Regions from separate parts of the Homo sapiens genome. Here region 2 is linked to region 1. The links are contacts of gene promoters, found by promoter capture Hi-C in blood cells and fetal thymus (Javierre and others, 2016). All regions are on one chromosome and are shown on one strand. The core of a region is centred on a gene start or on the middle of the fragment in contact, and the rest is flanking DNA. Distances in the headings are between cores, read along the strand shown. Region 1 holds the start of MAZ (MYC associated zinc finger protein). Region 2 has its middle 29 kb from the start of C16orf54.

Region 1 (7,451 bases), core at 3,098-5,597:
TCTTCCTCCTGCTCCCCTTGACTTTTTCCCCTGACAGATTCTCAAGTAGGACGATGTTCAGGGCCTGACCCCAACCCCCCATACCACCTTATGAAGGTACAACCTTTGCCGGCCCTGCTTCTGCCCCTCCTCAAACCTCACCGCTTTCCCTCTTTGGGACAGCTCTGATCCCCCTCCTTCCTCTCCTCCCTCCCCCTGGAAAAAAAAAAAAAAGGAAAAGAAAGCACCAACTCCCCGGGGAGGGGCTGCAGACAGCAGGGGGAGAGGACTGGAAGGAGAGAAGAGGACCGTCGAGGGAAGAGGCTCACAAGTCCCTGGGAAGACAGGGCATGGGCTTACAGAGAGGAGAGGGGGTACGGGCAGTGGCTGCTCGTGTCCTCTGCCACCCCTGCCCACTGTCCAGGGGACTTCAACACAACCGAGGGGACAGGTTTGTGTGGGGTCAGGTCTGACAGAAGAGGAGCAGGAGAAACAAATCGTTAAAACCTAGCGAATTCCCCTAAGAAAACATTTCTTCCTCCTTTCCTTCTGGAGGCTCCTTGGTTGGTAGGGAAATAGGAGTTGGTGGGAAAAGAGGGGGGAGAGGAGCTTGTACCAAGGGACTCTACTCCATTCTCCCCTCTCCCCCGCAACCAACTTGGAGCTCACCAGGGTTGGGAGGGAAGTGGCTGAGAGCTCACAGGCACCCCCTCCGCCCCCGAGAGGGAGCCCACAGCTGTGGGAGGGGCTGCTACTGCTGCCGCTGCTGCCGCTGCCGCCGCTGCCGCTGCCGCCGCCATTGGACAAACCTCACCAGTACCTGCACAGGAGAAACACCACGGATCACAGCGCGATCTGAATGGCAAGAGCCTTGCCCTCACCCCACACCTTCCCAGCCTGCTTCCCCTGGGACACAGCCGTTGCTCACTTCCTATCTGGACCCCAGAGGCCTCAGCCTGCATCCTCACCCAGACAGAGCAGTTCTCAAGGATCCTCCCTGTGCCCAGAAGTCTCCCTAGCCTGAGTGGTACATGGGCATCCCTCGCCTTCCTGAGATCCCCTATTGGGCCCTTTGAGCCCCGTTGTCCCCCACACCCCCCATCCCGCCCCCCAGCCATGCCCCACGCCTTGCCTGGTGGGTGCGGGGGTCCCCCTCAGCAGGTGGGCTGTGGCTGGGGGGCGTCTCCCGGGACAGGGGGGGCGGCCCCCCCCAGATGGGTCTGCATGTGGCCGGCCAGCTGGGCAGGGGTCTTGCAGTGCACGCTGCACAGCTTGCACAGGATGCGGTCAGCCCGCGGGGCCTGGAGCCCGTGGTCCTTCACCGCGTGGATGCGCAGGTATGCTGCCGTGGTGAAGCCTATTGGGGGGTGGATTGGGATGGGGCGGGGGTCAGCCAGGCGGAGACCCCAGAGACGGGGCTGATCTCCTAGGCGGGGGATGCCCTCCTCAGATGGCCCTGTCCTCCTCCCACGGTATCCTTGGTAGCCTGGGGCCAACTGCTCTGTTGGGGCTGGTAGACACAGCCCCTCCCTGAGCCTGGGGCCTGGCTTGTGTGGTGCCCGCTTCTCAGCCTTGGTACCTACAGAACTCATTCTCCATGGCCGGGAGACCTCTCCCAGGATGACGAGACACTGACTCCTAGCCACTTGCAGGGTTGACCCTCAGCAGAGACGGCTGTGTCCCCTTCCCTCCAGTGCCCCGCGGTCTCAACCCAGTTAACCGGTGAGTCTGACTGAAGGCAGCTTTCTCTGCTACCCGTGCAGGGTGCGTGCTGGTAAAGCCCGGCCCGTGTACTCCACCTGCCCCAGGAGCTGGAGACAAGACCTTGTGGCTGCGCAGCGGAAACCTTGCCTTGTGACCCCTGGAACTGGCTTTCTTGACTACTCCTTCCCCAGAGCAGCCAAGTTCCACTCCCGCTTTCCCCACACATTACCAGGAGGTTCAACCTCTCTGGCAGATCATCTCTTCCAACCAGGACTTCTTAGAGTCTAATGATGTTCATTCAGGTGTCCCCCCGCTGCTCCCTTGACCTCTTGTAGGAATCTAGACGCCACGAGCTCTTGGCTACAGCACCCTTAACCCGTATCCGTGGCAAGGCGTCTGGCCAGGCGCCCACCCTCTGCCCCTGGCCCTCCCGGCAGCCCTCGGCATGTACCTTTGTTGCAGAGCTCACAGACATGGTGAGGACCCTGGCTGTGCACCTTCATGTGGTCCGAAATATAAGCCGAGCTCAGCATCTTGCCACACACGTGACATGGCACTTTCTCCTCGTGTCGTACTGTGTGCGCCCGCAGCCGATCCTTCGTGGCGAAAGCTGCCTCACATTTCTGAGGAGGGGGGAGGGGCGTGGGGGGTGTCACAGGAGAGTTAAAGCTTGGTGGGCTGGGGAGGGGGGAGCAAGAGATTAAAGGAATCAGAGCCTTGGGGATCTTTGATCTGTAGGAAATGGGAGTGACATGATGAGGCCTTGAAGAAGGGATGAGAAAATGGAGCAAAAAGGCAAAAAGAAGAGAGAGAAAAAGGGGGTCTGAGAGACTGACTCAGACAGCTACCATGAGGATCAAAATCATGAAAACCAAGACAGGAGGAGGCGGGCTTCCTACCTCACATTTGAAGGGCCGTTCTGTTGAGTGCACTTGTCTGACGTGACTGTTGAGGTGATCCGGCCTGGGGACACGTTGGGGTTGGGGTTAGGGCGGAGGTGGTGCGCCCCAAATCCACCAAACCGCACCACAGGCCTTTCCGAGGATCCCTGCGCCTCCTCCCGGAGCCCAGGCCGTCACAGCGACACTTAAGCAGGAAATCCCTCCCCTGGAGCCCAGCAGCCGCTGCCGCCGCCGCCGCCTCCTCCCACGCGAAGCTTCCGTCAACCCCAAGGCCCACCTCCTCGACAAAGGACCACCCCTTGCTCCCTGGTAACCGGGAGAGGCTTCCTCCCTCCGCCCTGGGAGTGGCTCCCCTTCCCCAGCCTCAGCAGCCGCCTCCCTCCCCGCCAGCCACGGCCAGGCCACCTCCGTCGCGTCCCTCCCTCCCCACGGCCTAGCGGGCGGCCGAGGCCCCGTGCACACCGGGAGAAGCTCTTGCCACAGTGGGAGCAGTTGTAGGGCTTGTGCACAGCGCCGTCATGTGAGCGCACGTGGTAGCTCATGCGGTCCTTGCGCTTGAAGCGCTGCTGGCACACCGGGCACTGGTAGGGCTTCTCGTCCGAGTGCGACAGCTTGTGTCGGTTCAGGTGGTAGACGTCGCGGAAGGCCTTGCCACACATCTCGCAGGCATGGTTCTTCCGGATGCGCTTCCCCGAGGCGGTCGTGGTCACCACGCCACCGGCGGCCACTGCGGCAGCGCCGCCGCCGGCACCCGCCTCTCCCCCTCCCCCGCCGGCTCCGCTCAGCTGGGGCACGCTCAGGAGGCTCAGGGGCACCATGGTCGGCATCTTCATAGCACCCGAGGGGACCCGGCCGGCCTTGGCTCCCGTGTGGATGGCTTCGTGCCTCCGGAGATTGTAGCCGTTCTTGAACTCCTTGGCGCACAGAGCGCAGATGTAGGGCCCCTTGCTCTTTGTCTTCTTCTCCAAGGCAGACGCGACCGGGGCCACGGCGACCGTCGAGGTTGGGGCTACGACGGCGGTGGCCGCCGCCGCGGCGATAGTGGCGGCGGAGGCGGGGGGCGCGGCCTCGGCCGCGGGCGCCGACACTGGCGGGGGTGGCGGAGGGGGCGCCGGAGGCTGCTTCAGGGCCGCTGTGTCCACCGTAGAGGCGGCGGCAGGGGCCGGGGGCGCGGCAGCGACGGCGGCAGCAGCGGCGGCAGCGGCCGCAGCAGCCGCGGCGGACTCCTGGGCGGCGGCGAGCACCGGGAGCAAGTCCACCTGGAGGGGCTCGGCCGCCGGGGCCTGGGGCGTGGGCGGGGGCGCCGGCGCGGCCTGCGGAGACAAGGCGCCGAGTGGGCCGCGGGTGCGGGCGGGCGTCCCCCCCCAGCCCGGGCCGCCGCGGCCGGCCCTACTCACCTGGAATGGACTCTGGGCGCAGCCCTGGGAGGCAAAGAAGCGGGACTGGAGCTCAGCCCCGACCTGCAGGGGGTTCTGGGCGTGACCCTGAGGTGGCGGGAAGGAGTTCATGAGGCCGCCCACCCCCCGGGAGTCCAGGCCCAGCACGGGGAAGGGGGGGGCCAGCAGCGTGCAAGGAAACACCGGGAACATGGCCTCGGCCGCAGCGGGGCCCCCGGGGCTCAGCGGGGGCCGGGGGCGCGGGCCGCGCGGGGCCCGGGCTCGGGGCGCCGCCCCCGGCCGGCCGGGCTGGGCCGCGCCGAACGCATGGCCCGCGGGCCGCCCCGCCGCCCGCGCACCCCGGCCGGCGGGAGGGAGGAAAAGAGGGCGCCTTGCGGGCCGCGGAGCGCCGCGGCGACGGCGGCGGCGACGCCCCCTGGGTGGGGGCGGGAGGCCCCGCGGGGCCGGGGCCGGGGGCGGGGGCCCGGGCGGCGGCGGCGGCGGCGGCGGCGGTTGGAGCCTGGCGGGGCGGGGTGGGGGGAGCGAGGGAGCAGCCTCGGCCCCCGCCGCGCGCGCGCCCAGCCGGCGCCTCGGGGAGGGCGGGGGAGGGCGCGAGGGAGGGAGGGGGACAGCTGCGCGCGCACCGGGCGCGCGGAGGGGGGGTGGGACGGGAGGGAGGGCGGGCAGGAGGGGGTGTGGGCAGGGGGGTGGGGGCGGGGGGAGGGAGTTGTTACCTGGAAGATGAAGCTGCTCCAGTTGCTGGGATCCATGGCGGAGGGAGGGAGGGAGGTGGCTCGCGCTCACCCTGGGGCGGGAGGAGGAGGCGGCGGCGGTGGGGGAGGGGGAACCCGGGAGGAGGCGCGCGGGGCGGGCAGGAGGGGGGAGGTGGAGGGTGGGGGAAGCGGAGCACACTACGCGCGGGGAGGGCGGGCGGGGGGCGCGAGGACACACAAGAGGCTGGAGCGGGCGCGAGCGCTAGCGCGAGCGCGCGCGTGGCCAGCGGGAGGGGCAGGCGCGAGAGGGACTCTGGCGGGAGGAGGGACGGGGGAGCCACCCAGCAGCCCGAGTCGCCCCGAGCGCGAGACCCCTGAGACGGCTGCTGATTGGCTGACGATGGCGCAGGTGGTGGGCGCGCGGGAGACAGGGCGGCTTCTCTCCTCTTCCCCCCGCCAACGATTCCACTCCCCCTCCCTCCGCCAGCGGCCGTTATTTCGCGCGCACGCGCACAAGGCCGCCGTCGTTGCCGAGCGGGAGAATGGGGGAGCGCGCGCGCCGGGGGCACGGACGGGGCGGGGCTAATCCCTGAGCGCGCGCCCGCCTAACGGTCGCAGGCCTCATGCTTCGGCTTCCGCTTTTTGCGTCCTGCAGGCCACCGTCCTCCCCGCCCCACCCCAGCGGTGTATTTACAATCCTGCGCTGAGTCGTTCCCCGAAGATGGCGCCCAGTGGAGTCGCCTGCCTTGCTCGCGGCCCACCCCGAGGCGGTCACACCCCGGTCCCGCCCCCGCAGCCCCAAAAATCAGGCGGAAGCACCGGAGCAAAAACTGTATTTACACAACACGGGGTTATACAAAAATTTGAAAAGGCGGAGTGAGGAGACGACGGTCAGGAGGCGCCACAGCGCTGGCCGGCGGCGAGACCCAGGATGTTTGCCTGCAACACAGGAGGGAGGGAGACAGCGACGTTAGAGAGGGGCGCGGGGCGCAGGACAGGCAGAGGAGGGGCAGGGCCGTGACTTCACCTTCAGGAAGGACTCCATCTGTTTCCCCGTTATGCCCTCCACGCGTTCCAGGTCCTCCACCTGGCGGGACAGGATCGATAGGGGACAGGGTCTCGGGGGTACCCGGTCTCCCCCGCCCCCGCCCTCCCCCAGTCCAGTGGGCTGCTACCTGGCTGAAGGGGCCGTGGAGCTCCCGCCAGCCCACGATTAGCTGGGCCTTCTTCGGGCCAATGCGCTGAAGACTGCGGAGATCTCGGGCTGAGCCTTCGTTCAGCAGATCCAGTATTTTTTGGCGCCCATGAGCCAGTAGCTCCGGGCTGATCTGTAGCTCCCAGCAGTCCTCAGCCTTCTCCTCAGGCTCTAGGGCATCCAGGGACTCCAGCTGGGAGGCAAAGGGAGATGAGTGACACGCAGGGCAGCCAAGTGCTTTGGGCTCCTCTGCCAAGACTAGGAGCCCAGCACCAGCTACCTCCTGCGCTCCAGCCTCTTCCTCTCTTGTCAAGTGTGTCCAAAATCCCGCCCTCAGGTCACTCTCTGGGTTAATTCTTATTATGCAACTAGTGAAAGAGAGGTACTACTCAGTACCCAGTGGTAATATTAGCACCCTTCTCATGGAGTTGCTGTGGAGATCAAGTGAGTTAATGAATGTAAAGCACAAAATAAGCTCTTAAATCTGGTCCCTCATCTCTAAAAGGGAAAGAATAAGCTGTCTTTCAAAAAGTACATGGGAGAAAGTAATATGAATAAATGATACCTCCCCCAACCATCTCAGTTTTTGGGTAGTTCTAGTGGTGTTCGATTCTGGGTATGTGCATATGTGTGGTTTCTTGCTTGACTGCTTAGGTCATAGTTCCCTAAGTTTTCCCTCTTAAGCTTGTAGAGGGTAGAAGCCAGGCTACACAGTGGAACATCCGCTCTGCGAGGTACATCCACATCACTGCCTTCCACCCTAAATGCCCTGCAAGGAACCATCCATCACCACATTCCAGGGGTAAGCAAGTTGAGGTCTGTTAGTAGCTGGCGGCCATCATCCAGTTCGTTTAACCCCAAGGCCAACGCTCCTCCCCCTAGAGCCTACTCCCCCTTACTTCTGGGCTCCAGGTGTAGCCTAAGCCCCCAGCTACTTTCACCTTTCTCTTCCGGCCTTTATTCTTCAGGATGTGGATCTCGGCATTTGGGGATGCTGCCTGCTCCTGAACTGAAAGTAGGAATCGAGAATTGGAGTCAGGGCAAAGGGTACTTTTCACCCTCCCTGGTAGCCCTTCGATTCTTCCATTTCTGATTCCCCAGCTCCCCTCCATCCAGAGTTAACCTGTTGTGTTTCCACATGACCTTTTTTATACCCGCATTTAAAGGAATTTCAGTCAGTCTTGCATTATCTTCAATCCTCTACTCGTTTGTCCATCCCACTGTCCTAAACACCCGAGGGCAGAGCACCCCCAGCACTGCCTCAGAGCCTCCTCACCCCTCCCTGGGACTGGTATGTGGTGGGAGAATATGAATGACATGGAGACAGCTGCTCCTAACACTTCCTCCCTTATAGGATCTCAGCTGCCTTGGCCCCCCAGCCCCTGGAGTCAAACTTACTTAGCTGTAGGGGCATCACCACAGCCTTTTTCAGGGGCTTTGCCCCTGTGACTGTGCGATGTGAAAGGGGCCGGAGCATTGTGGGACAATGGTTCTCCTTTTCCTCAGCCTTCTGGGCCAACATCTTGGCCTCCAGTTCTTTTTGCTTCGTCTTAAGCCTCTGTTGGAAAGGATCAGGGAGATG
Region 2 (7,451 bases), core at 1,855-4,354, 89 kb after region 1:
CTCACGCCTGTAATTCCAACACTTTGGGAGGCCGAGGCGGGTGGATCACGAGGTCAGGAGATCGAGACCATCCTAGCTAACACAGTGAAATCCTGTCTCTACTAAAAATACAAAACATTAGCCGGGCATGGTGGTGGGCACCTGTAGTCCCAGCTACTGGGGAGGCTGAGGCATGAGAATGATTTGAACCCGGGAGGTGGAGCTGGCAGTGAGCCTAGATTGTGCCACTGCACTCCAGCTGGGGAGACAGAGCGAGACTCTGTCTCAAAAAACAAACAAACAAACAAACAAACAAACAAAAACGAGTGTGGTGGCACACGCCTGTAATCCCGTCTACTCAGGTGGCTGAGGCAGGAGAATCGCTTGCACCTGGGAGGAAGAGGTTGAGTGAGCCGAGATCATGCCACTGCACTCCAGCCTGGGCGATAGAGCAAGACTCCATCTCAAAAACCAAAACAAAACGAAGGAAGGAAGGAAGAAAGTGAGGGAGGGAGGGAGGGAGGGAAAAATTATCAGAATTAATAAGTTACTTTGGCCGGGCTTTGTGGCTCACACCTGTAATCCCAGCACTTTGGGAGGCCGAGGTGGGTGGATCACGAGGTCGGGAGTTCGAGACCAGCCTGGCCAACATGGTGAAACCCCATCTCTACTAAAAATACAAAATTTAGCTGGCTGTGGTTGCATGCGCCTGTAGTCCCAGCTACTCGGGAGGCTGAGGTGGGAGAATCACTTGAACCTAGGAGGCAGAGGTTGCAGTGAGCCGAGATTGTGCCATTGCACTCCAGCCTGGGTTACATAGTGAGACTCCATCTCAAAAAAAAAAAGTTGCTTTCACTTTGTAGGATGCATGATGGATATATAGAATATATATATAAGTAATAAAGCTTCTATGAGTGGAGGAACACCAGGGCTCCTGTTCCGTGGGAATTGGATAAAGCCACATGGACACACATGGAGTGGTTTTAAGGAGTGGAGAGTTTAATAGGCAAGAAAAAAGGGAGCAGAAAGAAGGAAGAAGCTCCCCTGTACAGAGACAGAGGGAGAGGGGCTCCAAAGCCAACAGAGGAGACCACAAGTGCGGGGGATACCAGCCAGTTATGAGTAGGCTGGAGGAGGCGGTGTCTGATTTGCATAGGGCTCAGGGAACTGGTTTGACCAGGCATTTTATTCGTGTAGCCTTTGAAAAAACTGGCCCTCCCACCCTAGCCTTTTAATATGCAAATGCAGGGTGCAATGATGTTTTACACAGGTGGGGATATGTGGGGGCAGCCACGTTGCCAGGCACATGTGGGGGCATGTCCTTGGGTTGTTCAGTTTGCACCATTTGGAGTTAGATGGCTTCTAAGCAAGAGGAAACAATTTGAGTTACAGTATTGAGTATACAGGGTCCAAATATTTATACAAGACATATAAACAAGACAGGGCTTAATAAAGGGGTTAACCAATTCCATAAAGAAGACAGGAATTCATTAAAGAGGGATTGTAGCCACCCGGGGCTGAAGCCGGCATTTTCTCTGAGCCTGTCAATGATTTTGATTTCATCTTTAAGTACCTGTAGATTTTCCTCTACTTTAGTAGAGGTTTTAATCCAGAAGCAGCATGTTTCATTTAAAAGTGCATCACTAAACCCAGTAAAAAGTCCTGGCAGATTCGGTGATAGTAACTTTTATGCTTCCTTTTCGTTAGTAACTACTATCCCTGCTATAAGGATAATAAGCAGAATACTACGGCAATGGAAACTCTGTCCAATATTTCAGCTTTAAGGTGCTACCGTGTATAACCCTATTGAAAATAGTGGGGTGAGTACAGCAATTCCCACAAGTGTGGTGTAGTAGATAATTTCCACTTAAAATTTTACTTGCCAAGATATAGAATTTCCCTTTGGGGGTTTATGAAGTTCTTTTGTTTTATTTTCCCAAACAAAGAAATCTCCAAGCTATGGGCACCCTACTCACTTTTTTTTTTTTTTGAGACGGAGTCTTGCTCTTTCGCCCAGGCTGGAGTGCCGTGGCGCGATCTCAGCTCACTGCAAGCTCCACCTCCTGGGTTCACGCCATTCTCCTGCCTCAGCCTCCCAAGTAGCTGGGACTACAGGTGCCCGCCACCACGCCCAGCTAATTTTTTTGTATTTTTAGTAGAGACAGGGTTTCACCATGTTAGCCAGGATGGTCTCGATCTCCTGACCTCGTGATCCACCCGCCTTGGCCTCCCAAAGTGCTGGGATTACAGGCGTGAGCCACCGCGCCCTGCTTTTCTTTTTTTTTTTTTTTAAAGACGGAGTCTCGCCTTCTCACCCAGGCTGGAGGGCAATAGCGCGATCTCGGCTCACTGCAACCTCCACCTCCTGTGTTTAAGCTATCCTCCTGCCTCAGCCTTCCTAGTAGCTGGGATTATAGGCACACACCACCATGCCCAGATAATTTTTTTGTATGTTTAGTAGAGATGGGGTTTCACCATGTTGCCCAGGCTGGTCTGAAACTCCTACCTCAGGTCATCCACCCACCTCGGCCTCCCAAAGTGCTGGGATTACAGGGGTGAGCCACCGCGCCTGGCCCCTACTCACTTTTATTACCTGGCAGAATTTATAGGATAATTGCCCAGAACCAGTATATTGATTCAGATTTTTACATTCTCCATTCCTTTTTTTTTCTTCCAAGCTGCAGATCACCACTTGATTTACAGGAATAAACAGGGTTAGTCTAAAATGTAGGCAAAAAGCTTAAAAACAATTAATGAGACTAGGATTTAATGACAAATGTATGATAAGCTTTGGGACACAATTTCTCCAGGTCTCATTTTTGGTAAAAACAAATTATGATAGGACCATGTGTGTTGTTTGTAGAATAAACTTTAGTTTTATACTTGGCCTGATGATTTGCCCAGGCTGGAGTGCAACAGGGCAATCTTGGCTCACCGCAACCTCTGCCTCCCAGGTTCAAGCTGTTCTCTTGCCTCAGCCTCCCGAGTAGCTGGGGTCACAGACATGCACTGCCACGCTCAGCTAATTTTGTATTTTTAGAAGAGTCCAGGATTTCTCCATATTGGTCAGGCTGGTCTCGAACTCCCAACCTCAGGTGATCCACCTGCCCAGCTTGGCTTCCCAAAGTGCTGCGATTACAGGCATGAGCCACCGTGCCCGGCCAGGAATGGTTATTTCTACACAGGCCTTTTGAATTGGCTTTGATGAAACTTTGTTGCACAAGGAATTTCAGATAAGACCTTTAAAGCCGAGCCCAACTATGGGTTTGTATCCTCAAATACCTGTGAGTTGGGTGATCCTCTCCTCTTAAGGTTCCAAGATAAACTTGGAGCTCCCAGGCCTGTTAGAAAGTGACACTCTTTACTGACCATAGGTTAGGAACCCTGTGTGGGGACTGTGTAGACTAACTATGAGGCCAGTTCTCTCCAAGGGGTTTTTATTGGGTCTGCATGTCAAGCTTGATTCCTTAAAGGGAAACACACCCTTTCAGTGAAACCTTGGTAAAATAACCAGTTTTTCCAACTGTGTCCTGTTGACAAAGAAAATTGACTCTTTTTTTTTTTTTTTTGAGACGGAGTCTTGCTCTGTTGCCTAGGCTGGAGTGCAGTGGCACGATCTCGGCTCACTGCAAGCTCCGCCTCCCGGGTTCACGCCATTCTCCTGCCTCAGCCTCCTGAGTAGCTGGGACTACAGGCACCGCCACCACACCTGGCTAATTTTTTTGTATTTTTAGTAGAGACGGGGTTTCACCGTGTTAACCAGGATGGTCTCGATCTCCTGACCTTGTGATCTGCCCACCTCGGCCTCCCAAAGTGCTAGGATTACAGGCGTGAGCCACGGCACCCGGCCAGAAAATTGACTCTTATTGCACTGATGCAAACAACCTTACTGCCATAAGTTAAGAGTACTCACAGATAGTCTCCACGTTCTAGAGGAACCAGGCAGAGAAAAACAAACATGCTCCAAATTTTGTTCACAGGCATATACCTTACGCAATTATTTATTTTATTTTATTTTGAGACAGAGTTTCGCTCTTGTTGCCAGGCTGGAGTGCAATGGTGTGATCTTGGCTCTGCAACCTCCACCTCCTGGGTTCAAGCAATTCTCCTGCCTTAGCTTCCCGAGTATCTGGGATTACAGGCATGCACCACCACACCCAGCTAATTTTGTATTTTTAGTAGAGATGGGGTTTCTCCAAGTTGGTCAGGCTGGTCTTAAACTCCCAACCTCAGGTGATCCACCCTCCTTAGCCTCCTAAAGTACTGGGTTTGCAGGCATGAGCCACGGTGCCCGGCACCTTACTTAATTATTAAAGGCTGTAAATAGTTCAAAATAAGTTTTCTTGACTCTGAAAGACAAAACAAGGATCCTTAAGTTATCTTAGGGACTCTCATGCGTATTTGCAATATTCCAAGCAAAAGTTAAAAAGGTTGCTTTGGCCAGGTGCGGCAGCTCACACCTGTAATCCCAGCACTTTGGGAGGCTGAGGCGTGTGGATCATGAGGTCAGGAGTTTGAGACCCTGTCTCTACTAAAAATACAAAAATTTGTCAAGCGCAGTGGTGGGCGCCTGTAATCCCAGGCTGAGGCAGGAGAATCCCTTGAACCAGGGAGGCGGAGGTTGCAGTGAGCCAAGATTGCACCATTGCACTCCAGCCTGGGTGACAGAGTGAGACTCTATCACAAAAAAAAAAAAAAAAGCTGCTTTAACTTTTTGAGTGCAGTCCATTTAGTTAACTTTTGTTTTGCTTGATATTTGTGAATATGTCCATTCTTTATGAGTCCTGTACTTTTTTATTCCAATGTTACAATCTTCAAAGCTATTAAAAACCTGCATTTGAGAACACCTGTTAAAGTCCTTAATATAGCTTGATTATAAACCATTTTCTGAGAAGGAACGAAGCAAGACAACAATTGTTTGCGAATGACAAAATTTCCAGGACAGTTACAGTTAAATCTTTACAAATCTTTTATAACCTTTTTACCAAAGGACAGATTAGTGTTTTAGGAACTCCTTGCTATGCTTTTATTTCAATGCTCAATTTATGAAAAGACCATATAGATACTATGAGAGAAGACAGTGTAGTGTTTCTACCATGCATTTCATTGCAAGGCAACCCAAAGCCAATTGGCTTATTTTGGCAATTAGCCCATTCTGCATGGTAGTCTCATCTCTTTGTGGGGGGTGGGGATGTTTTTTAGGTGCCCAAGAGCATGCTTTTTTGATTTATAACTACTATTAGGCATCCTTTACAGTGTATTTTCTACCTAGTTATTACACATCAAAGCTCTTTTATAATGTGAAGTAATTTGATACCCCCAAAACTCAAAACGGTAGATAACACAATACATAACAGAACAGAGCCTTTGGTTTTGAGAGGGAACTATCAGCTTTTAATTTTGGGGGTTTCATGAGGAAAACAGGTTTTTTTTCCAAAACAGGGTTTGTGGCACCTCCTCTGTTTTTCCCAAGGAGTTCCATGCTGTCAGAAGTTGTCTTAGGGACTCTCATGCATGCATTAAGAGTGGTTAAGACAAAAATGGAGAAAAATAATTCAGTTGACTGAGAAGAGCCTTTTTCCAGAAAACAAGATTCAAGAAGAGAAAAACATAAAGGCCTTTTAAGTATACCTATAACTTGAATATCCACTTTTAATTAAGCTGAGTGCTCTAAGAAAAGCCTTCAAAATCCCTTGTTACTTGACTTTAGCCATGCCAAGCAGTTAAGATTTTTGGCTTTTGAGTTTTACAAAAAGTAACCTCACAGGTGAACCCAATGAGCCTTAATTAGGTTATGACTTATCCACAAGTGTACAAGGTATTTTCAAAGGAGTAATAGGCAGCTTTTGAAACTGTCATTGCAAAACTGAGACTGAGACAGTGAAAGAGAAGAGATCCGACCCAAACAACTCCATTTTGTTTCCAGCCCCCAAGCTGTCCTTGCCCATCCCTGGGTGTAGGCTGGACCAACTTTGGGAGGGGCGAGTTTACAGTTATTAAACTATAGACAGTTTATAGTTATTAAACTATAGATAGTTTAAAACTACAGTTATTAAACTATAGTTTATAGTTATTAAACTATAGATAGTTTATAGTTATTAAACTATAGATAGTTTATAGTTATTAAACTATAGATAGTTTATAGTTATTAAACTATAGTTTATAGTTATTAAACTAGTTTATAGTTATTAAACTATAGTTTATAGTTATTAAACTATAGTTTATAGTTATTAAGCTATAGTTTATAGTTATTAAACTATAGATAGTTTATAGTTATTAAACTATAGATAGTTTAAAACAAAGATGATATCAGCCCCTTCTTAAGATATACTTCCCTCTTGTCTGGGGACCAGACCAAGAAACTAGCCATAAGATTAAAAACCAGGCTGGGCGTGGTGGCTCACGCCTGTAATCCCAGCACTTTGGGAGGCCAAGGTGGGCGAATCACGAGGTCAGGAGTTCGAAACCAGCCTGGTCAACATAGTGAAACCCTGTCTTTACTGAAAATACAAAAGTTAGCCAGGTGTAGTGGTACACGCCTGTAATCCCAGCTACTTGTGAGGCTGAGGCAAAGAGAATCACTTGAACCTGGGAGGTGGAGGTTGCAGCAAGCTGAGATTGCGCCACTGCACTCCACCCTGGGCAACAGTGCAAGACTCCATCTCAAAAAAAAAATATATATATATATATATTTATATATTTTATATAATTATATATATTTATATATTTTATATAATTATATATAATTATATATATTTATATATTTTATATAATTATATATTTATATATTTTATATAATTATATATTTATATATTTTATATAATTATATATTTATATATTTTATATAATTATATATTTATATATTTTATATAATTATATATATTTATATATTTTATATAATTATATATAATTATATATTTTATATAATTATATATAATTATATATTTTATATAATTATATATAATTATATATTTTATATAATTATATATATTTATATATTTTATATAATTATATATAATTATATATTTTATATAATTATATATTAAATATATTAACTATATAATTATATATATTAATATATTTTATATAATTATATATTAAATATATTAACATATATAATTATATATTATATATTTTATATAATTATATATTAAATATATTAACATATATAATTATATATATTATATATTAATATATATAATATAAAATTATGTATATATATAATATAAAATTATATATATATATTGGAAACTATGGCTTAGGAGCTATGCATCTGGAGGCTACAAGATTTTGACACTCCCTAAACTACTCTTAAAATGAGTGTTTAAGATATTTTGTAAACCCTGCCCTTGATGGATCAGCTGGCACCACCCAGATTGACAAACCGACTTAATCTGATTTTGTGGCCCTCACCCAGAAACTGACTTAGCACCAGAAGACAGCCACCATTATGAAATGGTGGAGACTCAAAC

The links. Contacts are between HindIII fragments. The CHiCAGO score rates a contact against its expected background, and 5 or more counts as called.
Region 2: a contact is called between a fragment that was not itself captured here and the fragment with the promoter of MAZ in region 1, in 2 of 17 cell types (total CD8 T cells and M0 macrophages). The highest score is 5.9, in total CD8 T cells.

What each region holds. Positions count from the first base shown.
Region 1 is chr16:29,803,425-29,810,875 of GRCh38, reverse strand. MAZ (MYC associated zinc finger protein) reads right to left here and starts at 4,347. Exons shown (of 5, transcript NM_002383.4): 1 at 3,983-4,347; 2 at 3,048-3,898; 3 at 2,583-2,646; 4 at 2,135-2,306; 5 at 1-799. The coding sequence starts at 4,174. The coding sequence ends at 645. KIF22 (kinesin family member 22) reads right to left here. Exons shown (of 14, transcript NM_007317.3): 10 at 7,268-7,427; 11 at 6,811-6,878; 12 at 5,850-6,062; 13 at 5,702-5,761; 14 at 5,492-5,613. The coding sequence ends at 5,566. MVP-DT (MVP divergent transcript) reads left to right here. Exons shown (of 4, transcript NR_186424.1): 3 at 703-841; 4 at 1,743-2,232. RefSeq lists enhancers at 2,557-2,796, 5,367-5,416 and silencers at 2,877-3,546, 4,447-4,586, 4,717-5,056, 5,797-5,846. The HindIII fragment of the contact is 3,714 bases long and covers 2,842-6,555 here.
Region 2 is chr16:29,712,987-29,720,437 of GRCh38, reverse strand. No RefSeq gene overlaps it. Among named protein-coding and RNA genes, the nearest start is that of C16orf54, 29 kb to the left of the region's middle. The HindIII fragment of the contact is 670 bases long and covers 2,770-3,439 here.